Linked DNA regions of Homo sapiens: region 2 is linked to region 1. Evidence: promoter capture Hi-C in human tissues and cell types (Jung and others, 2019). All regions are on one chromosome and are shown on one strand. Each heading gives the region's core, a stretch centred on a gene start or on the middle of the fragment in contact. The rest is flanking DNA. Distances are from core to core; before and after follow the strand shown.

Evidence for each region. Contacts are between HindIII fragments. The study calls those that stand out against the background at their distance.
Region 2: a contact is called between a fragment that was not itself captured here and the fragment with the promoter of GLRB in region 1, in 3 of the 25 tissues and cell types used here (IMR-90 fibroblasts, hippocampus and mesenchymal stem cells).

What each region holds. Positions count from the first base shown.
Region 1 is chr4:157,074,717-157,077,679 of GRCh38, forward strand. It overlaps GLRB (glycine receptor beta), which reads left to right and starts at 1,434. Exons shown (of 10, transcript NM_000824.5): 1 at 1,434-1,581. The HindIII fragment of the contact is 3,601 bases long and covers 542-2,963 here.
Region 2 is chr4:156,543,892-156,546,854 of GRCh38, forward strand. No RefSeq gene overlaps it. Among named protein-coding and RNA genes, the nearest start is that of LINC02272, 97 kb to the right of the region's middle. The HindIII fragment of the contact is 4,245 bases long and covers 1-2,963 here.

The DNA.
Region 1 (2,963 bases), core at 184-2,683:
ACAGCTCTTTGAATAATGATCATTTTGTAATGTAAATAAGGTAATGATCACTTATTAATGATCACTACTCTTAGGCAGCAGAATATCTCATGAAGCTTATGGAACACGGTTATATGCAGGAAATATTCCTTCCCTCCATATGCTGCGGGTGGAAAAATTTATTAGTGGATACATCTGTGGGTCCACAATACAATGCTAAGTGATGCTCACTTGAGACAATGCTTTTTTAATAAAAAAAATCCATCAGGACCTGGTGCAGTGGGGTGGGGTGGCTCAAGCCTGTAAGCCCCCCAGCTTGGGAGGCTAAGGCAGGCGGATGGCTTCAGGCCAGAGTTGGAGACCATCCTGGACAACAAAGCCAGAGATGCTGTCTCTTAAAAAATAATAATAATAATTAGTGGAGCGCAATGGCCTGTCTGTTGTTCCAGCTACTCTACTAGGGAGACCGAGACAAGAGGATCTCTTGATTGCCCAGAAGTTCAAGACTGCGGTGAGCGATGACTGTGCCTCTGCACTCCAGCCTGGGCAACAAAGTGAGCTCCTGTTGCTTAAAAAATAACAATTAAAAAAAATCAATCAGGCATACATTCAAGAGGTAATAGGATAGCCTTATCTGTTATCTAAGGGCTGCATATCCAAGTAAGGGCTACTTCTTCACAAGGATGAGGACAACAGTATTTTGCTCTTATAAGGCAGAGACCCTGTCTGGTTCAGATATGCAAAAATCACTAATTTTGAATCTCTGGTAAATTTCTTTCAAGATCTGTAACTCTAAGTAAATCTCTTAATATAACTGAGTTTCAGATTCTTCATCTACAGAAGGGGATGACAAAACTTGCCCAGGAATGTGGTGAGGGCCACATGAGATAAGGCGAGTGAAAGGTGTTTTGCAACTGTCAAGTTCTGTACACATGTTAATTATGTAACAGATGTTAAACATAGTATTACCTGTATGACTATATTGTCAGTAATTTTGACCAATTTAAGCTTGCTCAGAAAGTTCAGGCTTTTAGAAATTGGAAGACCCGGAGATTAAGCTGGATGTCTGGGTTCCAGGCAAATGGTGAAATGACAGAAAATGTGTTTTGTTCGCTTTGACCCAAGAAGGTCATTTGTTGCTCTGTTGTTTGTTGCTAGTGGTCAAAAGCTGACCCCAAGCAATCCCAGCTCCTTGAAAGGTTTTTTCTTTTTGTACCGACACTATCATTCCCGCCCTTCGTCCCCAACTCCTTTAGTCCCCTAAGGAGTGAGGGGGGTACACATTTCTGCTCGGTAACCCCTCCAATGCCTGAAGGGGACGATGCCGTGACGTTGCTCTGTCGGGACACCTCTTCCCTCCCCCGCCCGCGGTCGCCAGGTTCCCCCGCGGCCCGCGCTGTCCCCGCTGCGGCCCCGACCGCGGCGCGCCACGGCGCAGGCTCCGCGGCCCGAGCAGGCGCGTCAGCCGAGCTCGGCGGTGGCGCGGGCGGCTGGGACGCAGCTGCCCCCGCTCGGCGCCCGCTGCACCCTTAGCAGCCACTGCCACCTGGGCCCGGAGCCTCCACGATCTCGCCCGGCGATTGTGGGCAGGGGCGCCTCCGGGTAAGTGCCAGGAGCTCCACTTAGGAGGAGGGGACGCGGGTTGGGGCGGCGACGGTGGTCTGAGGACGGGAATAGACGCCTTTGCGGAAACAGCGGGTCAAGCCCGGGGCGGCGGAGCGCGAGGAGCACTGCGGCGTGCCCGGGAGGACGCGCGCTGCCCTGCGCGGGAGAGGGGCGCGGGGCGCCTGGCAGCGGCAGCCGGGTCCCCGCTGCGGTGGCGCCCGCGGAGACGCTCCGGGTGGAGAGATGCAGAGGGCCGGGGTAATTAGGAAACGCAAGGTTGGCCAGGAGGGCTCCTTGCGTTGTTTTGTTTATGAGGATCCTCCAGTCAATGCAGCTGTCCCCCTTGAAAGATTGGGGGTGAGGACAGAGCAGAGTGGTGAATTTCTCTGTTTTTCGAAGCGTTAGGGGGGCTCGGCCCTCCTTTTTGCGGGGGCAAGGATGTGAAAGTGGGAGAAGTACCTGCTGCTGTGGGCAAGGTGTCTGGAAGCAGGTGCCGCTGTCGGATGGGGGAAGGGAGCGTCCAATGTTGTGAAGTTGCCAGAGGAGAACCTTGTGTTGTTGCTGTTGGTCTGATGAGCCCCCTCTGTTGTCTTCAATTTAAAGTACCCAGGGAGAAGCCCCTCTGGCTTGCCTGGAGTGTGTGTAAAAGATAAATATGGGGGGAAGAATCCTGGGGGGGGGGGGGGAAGATGAAAAACATGACATAAGGAGAAGCAAATTTCTGAGGGTGAGATGGGAATTAAGTTAGCGTTGAAGAATATGACAGGTCTTTTACTCTGCGGAAAACAATGAAAGAGAAACAATTTATGGTTTGGAAATGAAGGTTGCAGAAGAGTTTGAACTTCTCTAGTGTAGGTAGAGGCTTAATTATTTTTTATTTATCAGAATCTCTGGCAAGAATATGGTTCTGATTTGAGCATGAAAATGTTATTAAAATATGGCTAGGACGATAATTTGAAAAAAATGTAACAACACTTGTTTTATTTCTTGTTGTAGAATTTCTGAAGTAATCTTTTTGATGACAAATGTTAGTAGCAAATAAGTAAGAAAGCTTTAAAGCTAACTTAAGAGGCACCTTTTTGGGGCAAAAAGGTAGCTTGCCAATGTAATGTGTTTAAATAAAAAAAGCAATGAATTTTGAATGTGGAACTCTTTGATATTAACTTTTTCTTTTATCTGTCTTTTTTAATACTTAGAATTTCTTTTTCTTTAAAATACATTATTTTTGAAAAAATATACATAAGAACTTCAAACAATATAAAAATTTAAAAAGAAAAAGATACTTCCAAAGTACTAGCCGAAGATAATCATTTTAACGCTGTGTTAAACCATGCTTCCAGATATCTTTCTGAACATATTTTTGATATACTGTGCAATTC
Region 2 (2,963 bases), core at 318-2,817, 530 kb before region 1:
AGAAAAGACTTAAGGGAGGCACATGCTTAGCGTGTGCAAGGAACAGAAAAAAAAAACAACTGAAGGGTAGGGATAAATGGGGTACAGCAATCAAGGGGAGAGTACAGGACAATAAAACCAGAGAAGTACCAGCAGAAGGACCCTAGAGGTCATGGTACAGACTGGGATTTTACTTTGAATGAGACAGAATGTCTTGAAAAATATTGTAGAATACCTCTGCCTTTAGGGTGCCAAAAAGATCATAGGGAGCATGAGTAGAAGCAGAAAAACAGGTTAAAAGATTTCAGTTTAGGTACAGATAACGGTGGCCTAGAATGGGGTTGTTTATGCTAGCTTTTGTGTACACTTCCAAAACCAAACAAGCAAATCATGGAGAGCTGAGAAGAGTGGATGAATTATATATGAGTTGTGACAGAAAGAGAGGAGTCAAGGATGACTCCAAAAGTTTATGGCTTGAGAAAATGGAAAAATGAATTTGCAATATTATGGATGAAATCGAATTGTAGGAAATTTTAAACTTCAGAAATATTAAGTTTGTGAAGGCTATTAAGCATTCAAATGAGAATGTCAAAGAGGGAGTTGGATTCAAGAAGCTTCTTCACTAAACTCCTCTTTTCTTTCCAAAATTAAGCTCATGTATCTTAATGCAAAATTATAATATGTGACTGATGAGACTAAGCTTTGTTCAATGAAAGCCCATATTTCAATAGCTGTTATTAGAATATTATATGTTAAACTGTGTTTATAATTGAAATGTCTTCAGTTTTCCATTTTAGGAAAGGGTTTTCTAACAGAAGTTGGTTGCGTAAGCTTTTGAGGCAAACTCTTTTCTGAAAGCCAAAATATCATCTAAAACCATCTCTATGAACTGGATCTTCATATTAATCCTCTTCACAGATAGAGAATTTACGTTGTGTTACTGAATGCCAGATGTAAGGCTGGCACACTTTCCCTGTCAACAATGATTATTGTCATTTAATTCGGTATTTATTCTGAGACTTGCTCTGTGAGCAGTTCTCACAGGGAAAACTCTTAATGTCACAGACCTACTGCTCTGGTGTTATACACTTCCTGAAAATTCACATAGGTCTGGGCCCTGTGTTTCCTTCCTAATCCCCTTATGCTAGGCTAAGAGAGTATTTTCCAGAAACTGTTTATAAGGTCTGTAACTTCTGTGCCTGTGTTTCTCAAACTTATGTTTCTTGGAGTGCCTTTGTTTTAATTGGAGACCATTTTAGGGCTTGAGCAACTTCTCTTAGAGCTACTTGCTGCTGTGGTTTGTCTTACATTTGTAGGCTTGCTGTCAGCCAAGATGTCAGAACTAGTGGTCCCAAGGCAATATGCTGCTGAAACATTCTCCCACTTTCTTGTTTACAAATCTTCTCCTTCCACTTGACACAGTGCAGTTATGTGTTTCTCATGGTTTTGTTCATGTTTCTTATATGAATGACCTGGTTGGCATAGCTGCTTTCAATAAAATAGAGTAGTCTACATGAGACACCCAACGTCAGACTGGCTTGCTACTTTAATTCCCATTGCAGCCATCAAAATGAAAACATGTCTGTCGGCCAGAGGAAATCAACAAACATACAATAGGAAAGCAAAATATTTTCTCTACTATTTTCTCTTCACTTGGAAATAGAAAAGGAGGTTATAACTTGCTAATCTCTGTGGCTCTGTTGTAACAACTGAATCACTCTCTGGGGAGACACAGACTCCTGTTGGAGAAACACTGTGATAATCAATGGTTTAAATGTCCTTAGCTGACTGAAATGAAGAACAATCAGCCATTCCAACTTTGCTGTTTCCTGAAGGTTCCTTGCTTCTCAATCCTTAATGCTTTTGCAGTTGAAGTTATCCCTAATGGTTCATCCTTCCCTTTCACCTCTCTACTTCCTTCTTTTTGATCAAGCATCAGCTGAATTCTCATCTACTCTGGGACATTTGTCTTACTGCTCTGCTTCAATCTGACATGCTGTGTATTGAATAACCTGACCCTGAGAAAGTCTGCTACACATATGCCTTCATCTACACTTCCTGTGCACAGATTCTTGTCAGTCATGGTCAAATTCTGGACCATGTGGCTATAATATGCTTTTATTTTTTCAACCCAGCCATACAATTAGACCAGGGGTATGCACAAGGCTCAAAGGCAGCCAAAACATCAGTTTTACAAGGATCCTTGATGTTCCAATGAATGTGAAATGTTAAATGGGACTATCAGACTCTTCTCTACAATTTTTAATAAAAGAAATACAGAGAGGTGAGGTGATTGACAAAGCTCACTCAAGAAGTACTTTATGTTATAAAAAAAGACCCAGAAGGGCCTTGATGGACCATGATAAGACAAAGTTTTGAAAAAGCAGAAATAAGAGAAGAAGCTTATTTGCAGATAGAGAAGAGAGTGGACTTGATGTACAGAAAGAACCAAAAACAGTCCAGGTGCAGTGGCTTATGCCTGTACTCCCAGTAATTTGGGAGGCCGAGGCTAGAGGATCACTTGAGTCTAGGACTTCAAGACCAGATGGGCCAACATGGCAAAACCCCATCTCTATGAAAACTGCAAAAATTAGCTCGCTGTGGTGTCGTGTGCCTGTAGTTTTAGCTACTCAGGAGGCTGAGGTGGGAGGATCACCTGAGCCTGGGGAGGTGAAGGCTGCAGTGAACCATGATTTTGTCACTGCACTCCAGCCTGGGTGACAAAGTGAGACTCTGTCTCAAAAATAATAATAATAAAAAAAACTAAACAGAGCTCACTGTGGAGAGATGGAGATAGATGGGGCAGCCAAGTCCAATTCCAATTCCAGGAGATGTGATTGACAGTAAGTGGCAGTTGCTTGAGATAGCTAGGACAAGGCACTCTTCTTTACGTGCAAATGCCTATCAAGAGTTCCATGAATATCTCCTTTGTACACTCATCCTGCTCCATCTCTAACTTAGTTGTCAGTGTCTTTCAGAAGACT